Linked DNA regions of Homo sapiens: regions 1 and 2 are each linked to region 3. Evidence: promoter capture Hi-C in human tissues and cell types (Jung and others, 2019). All regions are on one chromosome and are shown on one strand. The core of a region is centred on a gene start or on the middle of the fragment in contact, and the rest is flanking DNA. Distances in the headings are between cores, read along the strand shown.

Region 1 (4,871 bases), core at 665-3,164, 520 kb after region 3:
CGGAAACTATAAACTAACAAAAAGAACAAAATTTTAATAAGGATGTGACAATAGAAGCACAGACAACAACAACAAAAAGATAAATTGAACATCAAAACTAAAAATGTTTGTGCATCAAAAGACACCATGGCCAGGAGCAGTGGCTCATGCCTGTAATCCCAACACTTTGAGAGACTGAGGCAGGAGGATTGCTTGAGTCCAGAAGTTCAAGACAGTCTGGGCAACACAGCAAGACCCTGTCTCTACAAAATACAATCAATCAATCAATCAATCAATAAGCAAGCCAGCAAGCTGGGCATGGTGGCACACACCTAGAGTCCCAGCTACTCAGGAGGCTGAGGTGGATGGACTGCTTGAGTCCAGGAGGTCAAGGTTACAGTGAGCCATGATCTCACCACTGCACTCCAGCCTTGGCAACAAAGTGAGACCATATCAAAAAAAAAGACACTAACAACAGAGTGAAAAGACACAACACATAGAATAGAATCCTATAGAATAGGGGAAAATATTTGCAATTCATATATCTGAATACATATTCAAAATATGTAAAGAATTGCAACAATTCAACAACAAAAAATAGCCCAGTTCGAAAATGAACAAAGGACGTGTATAATCATTTTTCCAAATAAGACATAATGTGGCTAATTAGCACATTAAAAGATGCTCAACATCACTGGTCTTTAGGGAAGTGAGAATCAAAACCACAATGAGATATCGCTTCACACCAATTAAGATGGCTATTATAAAAATGAAAGAAAGAAAATAACAAGTATTGGTTAAGAGGTGGAAAAGTTGTAACCCCTGTGCATCATCAGTGGAAATATAAAGTAGAACAGCCAAAGTGGGAAACAACTAAATGGTTCCTCAAAAAGTTAAACATAGATTTACTATATTATCCAATGATTCCCCTTCTGGGTACATACTCTGAAAGCAGGGACTCAAACAAACATTTGTTCAACGATGTTCATAGCAGCATTATTCACGACAGCCAAAAAGTAGAAACAATCTAAATTGTTTCGCAACAGATGAAAGGATAAATACAAGGTAGAATATACATAAAATGGAATATTATTCAGGCTTGAAAAGGAATGAACTTCTGACACATGCTACAAGATGGATGAACCCTGAAAGCATTATGCAAAGTGAATAAACCAAACACAAAAAGACAAAAATTGTCTAGTTCCACTAATACGAGATACCTAGGCTAGGCAAATGTATAGAGACAGAGGGAAGGACAATGGCTACCAGGGGCTGGGAGGTGGGAGAAATAGGAAGTTATTGTTTTATGGTTATAAAGTTTATGTTGGAGGTGATAAAAAGTTCTTGAAATGGATAGTGGTAGTGATGCACAACATTGTGAATATGCTTAATCTTACAGAATTATATATCTAAAATGGTTAAAATAGTAAATTTTATGTTATGTATATTTTATCACAATAAAAAAAGTTAAAGAATTGATCACAATGATGAAAGAACACAAATCAGAAATAAAAAAATTCAGGAAAGAGGTGATCAGATAATAGGAGAATGTGAAGTGGAGACTGGTGGAACTCAGGAAATGGGGAAAAGGAAAAGGAAAAAACATTTCAGAAGTGAAGACTGAATTATAAGAACACAAAGAAGAACAGAAACTGTTCACCTCAGTAAGGGGCAGAGAGGAAATGAGGAAAGTAGATATAATGAAACATTTTTAGAAATCACAATGATTTCAGAGCTACAGAAAGCAGCTAACTGATGCCACTTTATGCCCCATTTCCACTCTTTGGAATCCCCAATGAAGAAAATCAAACAATGGAATAGAATATTTAAAGACATAATTCACAAAATCTTTGTTTAAATAAAAGTGCTTTGAGTTTACATATTGAAAGGCACATCACAACCCGGAACAGTCCACACAAAGATATATTATAAGGAAATTATTAGACTAACAATAAAGAATCTTTTGCACAGCCAAGCAAAAATCATGCACTATGTAATAAAAGAAAAATAAGAGTGGCCTCAAATTTATAGATTGCAATATTTGACCTTGGCAGAGTATAAAAGGCTTACAAAATATTTATGGAAAGAAAGTATGAGCCAAGGCAGGGCGTGGTGGCTCATGCCTGTAATCCTAGCACTTTGGGAGGCCAAAGCGGGCAGATTACCTGAGGTTGGGAGTTTGAGACCAGTCTGACCAACATGGAGAAACCCCGTCTCTACTAATAGTACAAAAATTAGCTGGGCATGGTGACGCATGCCTGTAATCCCAGCTACTCGGGAGGCTGAGGCACAAGAATCCCTTGAACCTGGGAGGCGGAGGTTGCAGTGAGCCAAGATTGCGCCATCGCACTCCAGCCTGGGCAACAAGAGCGAAACTCCATCTCAAAAAAAAAAAAAAAGAAAAAATAAAAAAAATTATGAGCCATATTTAATAATCAGCCAAGCTGTCCTTCAACTATAAAAGCTACAATTTGAACAGACAAAGGCTAAGAGAATACTGCACACCTGAACCTTCCTTGTCCAAACTACCAGAGAACAAATTTTAACCAATTAATTAATGACTGGGAAAGTTTGATGAAAAGACCAGCAAAAAAATTAAAAATAAAATAAAAGTATAACCATGTAATATGAAGAAGAAATGAAAAACCTGGAACAGTTATACTCAAAAGAGAAGATTTGAGGTTGGAACATATTCAGGTTTTAAAAGAGCTGCCACGTGGTTCAGACGGTAGGAGAAAGTAAATGGCAGTTACATGGAGACACGTTTTAAGACATATAAAGAAGAAATAACAGTCACTTCTATTGATGGAATAGATTTTCTCAGAAGGTAGTGAAATTCCTAGTAATCGAAGACGGGCAAAAATCATAATGTGATACCATTTGTTATCCATTCTACTAATAGAAATTTTTTAAAAAAAGAAAAGAGTGGCCGGGCACAGTAGCTCATGCCTGTAATCCTAGTGCTTTGGGAGGCCAAGACAGGCAGACTGCTTGAGCCCAGGAGTGCAAGACCAGCCTGGGCAATATAGCAAAACCTCTTTTCTGCAAAAAAATACAAAAATTAGCCGGGTGTAGAGGCATGTGCCTATAATCCCAGGTACTCAGGAGGCTGAGGTGGGAGGATCACTTGAGCCAAGGAAGTTGAGGCTGCAGTGAGCCATGCTCACACCACTGCACTCCAGTCTGGGTGACAAAGTGAGGCCCTATCTCGAAAAGAAAAGAAAAGTAACTCAAAGAGTTGAGTAAAAACCAAAGAGTAATAAAAATAAATTTTTTTAAGTAAAAAAAAAGAAAGAAAAAAGAGAAACGGATGTTGGAAAGAAGTATAGGTGGGATCTAAAGTGGCTCAAATTTCTGGAAGGCAATTTGGCAGTGCCCAGCAAAAGCTGGAGCTTCTTCATAGGTCATTCTCTCTCCAACCAGGCTCCGAACACAGGGGAAGGGCAAGTAACAGTGAGCAGGACTCATATCTTATACAAAGGGACTGCCAGATATTTGGAATATACTGTTATCGGGGGTGGGGTGGAGAGAAGGCTATAAAACTCATGTCAAGCATAATCTGTTTTTATAAGTCTATATGATCACAGAAAAACTTTAGAAGGACATACACAAATATATTAAGTGGTTTTTTTTGGGGGGGTTGTCAAATCTTGAATAATGCTTATTTTCTCCTCTTAAGTTACCTGCAGTTCCTCATTTTATACTCCAGACACGTGTTACTATCACAACAAGAAAATTAAAGGTTATTATAAACAGTTAAATTCTCTATATAAACACAAGTCAAGACCTATTGCTGAATTCCATGATGGTAGAGTGAAGAGGTCTGCAAATACTCTCCTAAAAAAATGTATAAAACCAGACCAAACAAAAAAAGTTTCAGGGCTCTAGAAATTGATCAGAGATATAAAAATTACATTGAGAAACATTTATTCATGAATGGGAGATGAAGTGTACTTAAGAATAGTGGGAGTTTGCAGCACTCTTGCCTATTCCCAACCCCTCCATGCCCTAGGCTGGGTTGGCACAGTAGTGTTACTACAGGGGGAACCAGCGGTGAAAACTAGCGGCTTTGGTGATTTGGAAGAGAGGACAAAAACCCCACACCCAGTGGATCATGTATCTAATAAAGGACTTGTATCCAGAACATAAAGAACTTTTATAATTCAATAAAACCAAAATGACACAACTAAGAAACAGGCAAAAAATATGAAAACACATTTAGCCAAAGAAGATATACAATGGCTAATATGCATATGAAAATATGCCCAATATCATTACTCATGAAGAAATTGAGATAGCACTACTAACTCACTACAATGGTTATAAGAAAAAAACTAACAATACTATATGTTGGCAAGGATATAGAGAAACTAGAACCCTCATTCATCACTGGTGAGAACATAAAATGGTACAACCACTTTGGAAAAAGTTGGCAGTTTCTTAAAATGTTAAATGCAAAATTACCACACAACCCGATAATTCTACTCCTAGGTACCTACCCAAAAGAAATGAAAATCCATATCCACAGAAAGACTTGATTTGTATATTAATGTTCCTAGCAGCATTATTGATAATAATCAAAATCAGAAACAACCCAAGGATCTATCAGTGAATGAATAAAATGTGATATATCATAAACAGAATATTATTTAACAATAAAAATGATATGCTAATACATGCTACAACATGAATGAACCTCAAAAATATTATGCTAAGTGAAAAAAGCTGATCACAAGAGAACATATAAGTTCCATTTATATCAAATGTCCTGAAAAGGCAAACGTATAGTGACATAAAGCAAATTAGTGGTTGTCCTGTGGGGGTGGGGAGGGATGGTGGGAATGTTCTAGAAATGGATTTTGGTGATGCTTGCACAATTGGTCAATTTACTA
Region 2 (4,906 bases), core at 1,082-3,581, 610 kb after region 3:
ACACTGTACAGTTATACAAAAATATTTTCTTTCTTTATATCCTTCTTCTATAAGCTTTTTTCTACTTTCAAAATTATTTATTTACTTTTTAAACTTTTGTTAAAAACAAAGACACACACACACACATCTTATATTAACACAAAAGCGAAGGCAACAATATAATTCTTTTAGCTAATCTATTTTTCTCCCTTTGGCTCTTCGAGGTTACAAAACCAGAGCCTGGGAAAATGGGATTGTACTAAAACTCCCACAGAAAGATGTCTAGAAGTCTTGTTGCTTCAGATGCAGCAAAACAACATCTGATTGGCAAAGGGCCACTTTGGTTTTTCTCCTGCTTGGCTAGCATCCTAAACTTAGTTTTCACAGTGTTCTGTCCCTATTTAACACTGTGTAGTGGAAAGGCAAAATAGTGAGGTGGTAAAGAACATGGACTGTGGATTCTGACTGCCTGGGTTGGAATTCTCATTCTGTCACACACTGGTCATGTGATCTTACCCTCCGTCTCTGTTTCCTCACTTACAAAATGAGGAGAATCATAAGACCTGCCTCACAGGATTGGTATGTGGATTAAGCGAATTAGTATATGTAAAGTGCTTAGAACAATGCTTAGCACATAGTAAATAGTATTGCATAAACACACACAAACACACAATGCAGTAATTTCTCACATTTTGCGTAATCAAACTGGGATAATGACTTTATGATTCCCTTATATAACTATAAAGAAATATTTCATTATCTGAATTAGCTTATTCATTGAGGACTATTAAAATGTAAGGGATAAACTGGATATCTAACATACATGTGAACTTTCTACTTCTTCCACTTATGTCTATTAAGTGTATTTGCACTTGATAGATATTTTACAATGTGGGTATAAAAATCCACAGGTAGCATAAAAGTAAAGGGGAATGATAATGGTCTTTCTTGTTTTCTAGTAACAGCTTCCCCCCGCAGTAGTGTTCTTTTTTTTTTTGGAACACATATTGGCAATGGGAATATAAAGACCTGAAGGAGGCTCTCTGCCTAGCTTCAAGGAACCACAGGATACTTAGGGAATTAAAGAATGATAAAAGGAAGAATATCACGAGACACCTGGGAGTCTCGTTCTTTATCATTTGCTCTTGACACATGAATTTCCAAAACACGTGTCATTTCTTAACCAGGACAGAACTGTAATAATTTGTTCTAGTTCTCACATGCATTCTTTATGATGAGAAATCTGAAGTCATCCTCACCTTTGTTCCTGTATATGTAACAAGGCTTTCTTCTCTGGTTCCTAGGATCTTCTCTTTATCATTAGTTTGGGGAAATTTGATTTGTGCCTTGCTATAATTTTCTTCATGTTGCTTGTGCCTGGGTTTGTTGAATTTCTTGGATCTGAGGTTGTCACAACATATTGCTTTCTTCACAGAGAGATAACCCTGTAGATGAAGTGATAAAAGTTCTGAATGATACTACAAAATGGTTGGCTTTGTTAAATAAAAACCAATTCATGCCATAATGTTTTAAAAATTGTGTTATTATTTGGACAAAGATTACATACATCTCCTGCTACATATAGAAATCTGTGGCTTAGCAGAGGAAGGATTTGCAACAGTATGCTTTAGCTGACAGGTGGATTGGAGTGCATGAGTATTTTCAAGGTAGGCCAGCTTTTGCTGAGTATTTTGAATAAGAAGGTGGTGGCTACAGCAATGAACTACTTAGCAAATATTTTTCATCACATGAACCAGTTGAATGAGTATCTATAAGACCTTGGAGAAAGTAGCATGATTTCAAGTGACAAGATTCTTTGATTTATATAAATCTGAATTTTTAGAAAAATCATATTGCAATGGCAAATTTTAAAATTTTCCCACTGCTACTTGGGTTTAAGAATGAGGAAAGATATTAGTAAGAGTTAAATTTTATAGAAAGCCACCTTGAAGAACCGCAGAACAAAATGGCACAGTATTTTTTCTTTCTTTCAACACAAAGGTGAAAAACCTTTTCTCTGAATCTTCTACTGCTACTCTACAGTTTGAGAACCTGACTTTGAAAGAGGAAAAATAACTTAGTAAGCTGCCATCTGATCATGCAGTCAAGATAAGGCTTACTCATCTGCTCCTAGACGACTTTTGGATTTCTGTGAATGAAGAGTATCCTGCTAGTCACAGGAAAGCAATAAACATTCTGCTGCATTTTTTTCAATTCGTTACATATGTGAACAAGTTTGACTTGTTTAACAATCATCATGAGCAAGGAAAAATATCAACTCATTTTAGTTGAAATGTCATCCATGTGTGTTTATCTCAAGTTTGATCCAGCATTGTATTATTGTACAGCAGAAAAATAGCACAAGTTTCAAGTTACTTTGTTCTTTATTTCTAGTTTCAAAAGTAACAAATTTTATGCATAGGTATATAGAGGAGATATAAAAATTCGACACATATAAAATTATTATGATCATAACAGCTAGTCTTATACTTGAGCTTAATCATGTTACTCAGGAAGAAAATAATTTTTTGAAAGCTTTGTTAAAAAGTGTGTCTTAGGGTATACTTTTATTAATATTCTGTGGCTTATGGTTTTAATAGTTGTACTAATTGCATTGTCTAATTTTCATGTTGTAAATAACATTAACTAAATCAACATAACCTTTTTTTTTAATCAACTTTTATTTTAAGTTCTGGGGTACATGTGCAGGATGTGCAAGTTTGTTACATAGGTAAACGTGTGCCATGATGGTTTGCGGCACAGATCAGCCCGTCACCCAGGTATTAGGCCCAGCACCCATTAGCTGTTTTTCCTGATGCTGTCACTCCCCTCTCCCCCTACAGGTCCCAGCGTGTGTTGTTCTTCTCCATCACCGTAAATTTTATTCAAATTCAATCAATCAAGCCTACCTTTAGAAAAAGTAAATTATAAGTTTTTGGCTTAAACTTGCTAGTTAACAGAAATTTATTGTTTGCCTTATATGTTTTTTAATAACTTATGAAAAAGAAAGTAAAATATTACTTTCAAGAAATGTAAGCTAAACAACTTTTTTTTTTCAAGACAGTTTGGGGAAAAAGTCATCCTTAGTTTTAAATAGGGGAAACAAACCTTAATCTACCATATAGCACACAGCGTACCTTCTCAGCTACTTGTAGAGTAGGACTTGACGGCAAACCTTTAGGCTTTCTGGATGCAGAGGCCATAAGAATGCAGCTTGCAGACCTCCACCTGTAGGGAGCTCAGCCCCGCTGCCGTGCTCCGCACTCCATTGCGGGGTTGGTACTAAGGCCGTGCTTCCCAGGGACTGCTCCTGGCCGGTGACTGAGTACAGGAGGAATGCTATGGCAGGCCATTTCTGCATGTCATTAGACCCCCGTGATGGCTGACTTTGGCTCCCTGATAGCCTTGCTAACCCTTCCTCAGACCTCATGGCCGTCGAGGCTACTCAACACCCCACCTTTCTTCCTTCTTCCCTCACTCGGGGTCCTACCTGCTTCATGGTCTGATGGCTCTTCCAGGGCTCCAGTCTCCCTTGTGTTTTCCCTCTAAGGTATTTCCCTTAATAAAATCCTTACCTGTTTAAATCCAATCTTGGTTTCTTGGATAACTTGGACTAACCATTGGATATGGTTTAAAAATCAAGTAGTAAATAAAAATAAAAGGGAAGCTAAGTTTTCTTTACCTATTGTACCAATTTATGTTAGGGTTGATGTCTTTTATGGTGAAGGAGAAGCACACAGAAAAACTAAGCTAATAAGGTATCCATAGAAAAAGATAATTTGTTTCTCAAAAAAGGATTGACAATTATTGGATTATTATACCTATTGCTTATGATCACGGTAATATTCTGTGATTAGCAGATATTAAGAACATTTATGTAAGGATTTCCTGATACTGGAAAATTATTTCAAGAATTTCTCCAGGGTAAAAAGACTGAGAAAGGCTACTCCAGGCTACTTCTGATATGCCTCAGTTCAGTCTCATTTGACTTCCTGGGTGTTACATTTTGTGATGAAACTGAAATATTTTGCTCCCACTTTGGAGCTCAAAGTAGCTGAATCCAATTCTTGCCAATGCAGAATCCCATTCTAAAAGCCATCTGGACAGGGCCCAGTGGCTCATACCTGTAATCCCAACACTTTGGGAGGCCAACAGTTTGGGAGGCCAGGAGTTTGAGACCAGCCTAGGCAACACAGTGAGACCCCGTCTCTACAAAAACAATTTTTAAAAATTAGCCAGGTGTGGTGACATGCACCTGTAGTCCTACCTACTTGGGAGGTAGAGGTAGGAGGATTGCTTGATCAAGGCTGCAATGAGCTATGATCACACCTACTGCACTCCAGCCTGGGTGACAGAGTGAGACCTTGTCTCTAAAAAAATTAAAAATAAAAGTAAAGCTGTTTTTTTTTTTTCTACCTGCCCCTTTATGTGACTTACGGAGTCTCTAATGGAGTCTAACTATACTACAGAGTTAAAAAGCAAGATTCTAGCCCTAGAGGGATTACAAATTTTACAAGGTTATTAAGACAAAATTTATGTACAGGGGCAATATAAGACTACTGTTCACAGATTTAGAAAAGAAATCAAAATTTGGGTGTTAAACATGGCAAAAAATCCTAATTGCTACAATTGGGACTCAAGATCCGGGCCAGGAGAGGAGCAAAGTATGGTATTTAAGAACATCTTGGGTGGGTATGATGGCTCATGCCTGTAATCCCATCACTTGGAGAGGCTGAGGAGAGAGGATTGCTTCAGCCCAGGAGTCCCAGACCAGCCTGGGCAACAAAATGAGACCTCGGCTCTACAAAACAATTTAAAATTAGCCAGGTGTGGTGGCACGTGCCTGTACTCCTGGCTACTTGGGAGGCAAAGGCAGGAGGATGGCTTGAGCCCAGGATGTCGAGGCTACAGTGAGCCGTGATCGTGT
Region 3 (4,206 bases), core at 276-2,775:
TTCTCTTTTTCACCTTATTCACAAGTTATTCCTTAATTTTTTTTCATACTAGTCAGAAAAGATCCCCCTCTCTTATCCAAATATTCCTTCATTACTTTGGTCAACCCCCAAACCATCCCTGTTAATTTACTACTGGAATAAACACTAGAGAAAAATCAACTTCTTCATTTTAGAATAAATGCTAAGTAGAGAAACTTAACTAATCCATTAGAAGGAAATCACTGGAAAAGGTGAGAGGGCAGAAATGAAGAAACTTTCGAAAGCACTAAGTCTGCAGTGAGCTAGTTATAAACGTAAATCAAATGATAATTTCAAGGTTCGAGAAAATTGAATAATATGTTTATTACGGGAAAAAGAAATACGAAAAATTGCTAGCAATCTACCATTCAAAGATAACCACTGATAACATTTTGGTGTTTATGCGATTTGTAATACTAGCGTTAGTGTTGTCAATATTCAATTTTGGTAGCTTGGAAACTGTAGAGCTGTCTTCCCAAAAACTAGTTAAAGAGGCTTCTACGAAACCTGCTAGGCCACAACTAAGAGCCACTGGGCAGCAAACACAGCTGAATTGCTTAAGATTGTCAGGCACCAGTTGTACAAGACACTTTCACAAGAATCTGGAGGGTACAACAATACTTTTCATTATCTTGGCTTAAAAACCGGAAGGCTTCGGACTTGTCCTGAATCGCAGTGGTTCATAAACCTGGTGGTACATTAGAAATCATTTAGGGACCGTTTAAGAACACAGATAAGCTGGGCGTGGGGGCGGCGCCTGTCTCTCGACTCCTGAGGAGGCTGAGGCGGGAGTTCTAGGCCAGTCTGGGCAACGTAGGGGGCACCCTGTCTCTTAAAAGGAAAAAAAAAAAGGAAAAGAAAATACAAATGTTCAGGTCCCATCCCGCGAGCATTCCAAGTCTGCCCGTCTTGGGGGCTGTCGGGGAATCGGCATTTTTAAAACGGTCCCCGGGTGATTGCAATGCGCAGCCGGTCGCGAACCCTAAAACGCTTCGAGCCATTCCCGCAGGCTGGCGTTGCGTTCTGGGAGATGTGGGACGCAGCTCCCCTGGCCTCCGGTCTCCCCCGTCCTGCCCGCTGTGCGCCCGGCGAGGACAGAGTCCAGAATGTGGCAGCGGAGAGTACCTGACCGACCTACAAGGCCCCAGTGGCTGCAAGAGGCCGCGGTCCACCGCTCCCTTTCCGCCCACCGGGAGGCTGCAAAGGAAGGGCCAAGGCCAGCGAGTTACCTGAGCGGCTTCTTGGAGAGCGGGCACACCAGGAACTCCAGCAGCGCCGGATCGAAGTCGCGGGGCGGCTCCTCAGTCTTCTTGCCCCGGTCGGCCAAAGGCCGCGACCCCGACGCGTGCAGGCACCTACGGGCGACCGCGGACGGCGGCGCGCGCGTTCCCCGCAGCGCTGAGGCGAGCCTGCAGCGTGCTCCACTCAGCATGGTCTGGCAGCCGGAGACCAGGCCTCACCGCAGCCTCGCCACCCGTGGCCGAGCTCCCGGCTTCCCGTTCGTCCAGGCCAGCCGGGCAGGCCCCGCCCCCTGGTCCTCCAGGAAACGCTGCCGAGGAGTAGGCGGGGCGGGCGCTTTGGTTCCGAGGGTGCTTCTGCTCCGACTGCTTTTCCCACGGGCGTCATCTATAGTCCGGAGGACAGCCCCAGGGCAGAGGCCTCTGGTGAGTGCCCCGCCGCCTTACCAGACTACAAACTAAACCAGTGTTTAAGTCAAGGTGTCTGGGTTTTCACCGGGGCCTGTCCAAGGATGCTAGGAAGCCAGTGGCCAGGCCTCAGAGTTGTAGGGAGTTAGGCTTGGACCTACGTGGTTACCTCCAAGTGAAGTTTCAAACACACTGTTATGTATTGTACCGAATGTATTGTCATGGATGTATTGAAAGCGCTCATTTGTTTCATGTACATCTTTACTATACCATTAGTTTCTGTAACCTTGTTTGGCTTTTTTCTCTCTCATTAAAAAAAGTGAGAACCTGGAAGGAAGGGCCTAGGCCTCTGACCCTCCAAAATATATAAATTCTTCCTGCCTGAGACCCAGTCATTGTGAAGTATTTGCGTAATAAAGCACAGCTAATTTACTTCTATAAATGAGCTTGGAGGCCGCAAGGGGCCTAAATAGCTGTGTAACAGGCAGATGTGATCTGCCTGTTAAAGATCCATTCAATGAGTGGGTGATCCATTCAGTGAATTTGTATCCCAGGTTTGCTTCCCACTCTCCAAGAAAGTGACCATGTTAGATCTCTTTCTTACAGTGTAGTAGATGGGAACTTGGGCTCTGGGGCCTGACAGCTTGGTTCCCTGTCCACAATTAGTAGCTGGATGACTTTGGCAAATGACTTAACTGCTCATTTTCCTTATCTGTATAAGACTAATAATTGTACCTACCTTGTAGGTAGGGCATAAATGTGATTGTGCATTCGAAGAACATTTAGAAAAGTGCCTGGCACAAATTAATGCTCCATTAATGTTGTCTATTTTTATTTTTAGTTCATCTAGTTTTTCCATGTCCGAAGACTCAAAGATTCTCATTAGTCATCCATTTTTTCCCTCCGTTCTGCTGAATATCAACCTGAACTTTTTTTTTGCATCACTGGGCATTATCATTTCACACTTTGAGTTCCTGGAGCTGGAAGTACAGAATCCAAAAATATGTTTATATTTTCAAATTTCTCTTCCACTCCAATGTAAAAATAAACTGACAAATGTTTATATGTTCATCCTAATTTTTTGTTTGTTTTTTGGGCCATCCTGTTTTTTTTAAAAAAAACAGTTTATTTTTTGATGTTCTTTGTTCACTAATGCTCAGAAGATTTTCTAAGGTTAATGTAGTTTATAGGATACCAAAAAGGAAACACTTCTACTGGATAGATATTTAAGAGATAATGAAAGTCTCTGGTTGCCTCACCTTCCTTCCCTCACAAAGCAATCTTTCACAGTCATAACTTTCCGTTATTAGAGTTACTAACGGACTAGAGAATAGGGCAGTTATCGGGACATACCCTCAAGGGAAACTACTGTAAAGTTCCTATGTCACCTTCACACTATTTCCGACTAGGGCAGTAGCAGGAATTAATTTTTCAGTTGAAGTCAGTTGATACTTTGGGCTCAAGGGAAGGGGTGAGCTGTAGGAAAGATAAGTTTCTGCTTAAGGAGAAACAGCGCTTGACTTCTGCAAGCGCTGAGTGGGCCCAACCCTTGGCGCTTGTTGGGTAGGGGAAGGCACCCATGCTTAAGCCTCAGCTAGCTTGGCTGACAGATCTCTATCAACTGGGTTTTCTAACCAGTTATAAATAAATTAGTTTCAGTTTGCCTCCACATAGAGGGTTTGAGGCAGTTCAGTTTACTTTATTTAGGGGAAGAATAGAGAGTAACAGCAAAGTATTGAAAACATCCTCAAATTTATAACACCAGAAATCAACAACCAATATTTAAGGAACATATGAATGTATGACTATCACCATGTGTGTATTAAGTTGCAACATATCAAAGCAATATGTCCCTAAATAGCCCTTAGTAATGAAGAAATACAATTCATTTCTGCCTGTAGTATACTAAGCTAAATGTAGATGATAGGATAGGATCATGGGACTGGAACTGGTCTTTTAAAAGTTAGTCCCTTTTCACTATTCACATGACTGACCTTTCGTGTCACATAGGCCTGTGCACAATAACCTGATGGTTTCTGGGCTCAGATACAATATAGCTGTGTGATCTTGGAGAAGCTACTTAAGTTCTCACCCTCAACCTTCTCACTTGTGAAATACAATAATAATAGTATGTAACTTACAGTGTTTGAACAGACTAAATAAAACAATTCAAGTAAAACAGCACAGGGGCTAACACATTTAAAGAATGTTTAGCAATAAAATTATTTATTATGGTGAAACTAGTAAACATTCTGATGGAAAGGGAAAGCACAAGGTACTTCTGGGACACTCTTTTTAACTGAAATGGAATTTTTCTAATTTCCAATATGGATACTATTGAAACACAATTCTTGGATTATCACACACATGAAGTTAGAAATCTCTAGGCAGAAGAGGGGCTGGACTATGTATTTTAACAGAGCCTGTCAATTCCAAATTTGGGGGCATTGAAATTTGTGAACCTGCAATCCAAAGAAATGAGTCAAAATAAATTTTCCACTAGATGGCATCATTTAGTATTTGAACTAACATTTATCTCTGC

The links. Contacts are between HindIII fragments. The study calls those that stand out against the background at their distance.
Region 1: a contact is called between a fragment that was not itself captured here and the fragment with the promoter of PIGY in region 3, in 1 of the 25 tissues and cell types used here (spleen).
Region 2: a contact is called between a fragment that was not itself captured here and the fragment with the promoter of PIGY in region 3, in 2 of the 25 tissues and cell types used here (IMR-90 fibroblasts and hippocampus).

The regions. Positions count from the first base shown.
Region 1 is chr4:89,043,662-89,048,532 of GRCh38, forward strand. The region is part of intron 1 of FAM13A (family with sequence similarity 13 member A); the gene reads right to left. Among named protein-coding and RNA genes, the nearest start is that of FAM13A, 11 kb to the right of the region's middle. The HindIII fragment of the contact is 6,600 bases long and covers 1-4,871 here.
Region 2 is chr4:89,134,605-89,139,510 of GRCh38, forward strand. No RefSeq gene overlaps it. Among named protein-coding and RNA genes, the nearest start is that of TIGD2, 26 kb to the left of the region's middle. The HindIII fragment of the contact is 7,650 bases long and covers 1-4,906 here.
Region 3 is chr4:88,522,251-88,526,456 of GRCh38, forward strand. PIGY (phosphatidylinositol glycan anchor biosynthesis class Y) reads right to left here and starts at 1,526. Exons shown (of 2, transcript NM_001042616.3): 1 at 1,248-1,526. PYURF (PIGY upstream open reading frame) reads right to left here and starts at 1,526. Exons shown (of 2, transcript NM_032906.5): 1 at 1,248-1,526. The coding sequence starts at 1,450. It overlaps PIGY-DT (PIGY divergent transcript), which reads left to right and starts at 1,560. Exons shown (of 2, transcript NR_134663.1): 1 at 1,560-1,682; 2 at 2,515-2,741. It also overlaps a transcript of HERC3 not described here. RefSeq lists an enhancer at 824-883. The HindIII fragment of the contact is 23,527 bases long and covers 1-4,206 here.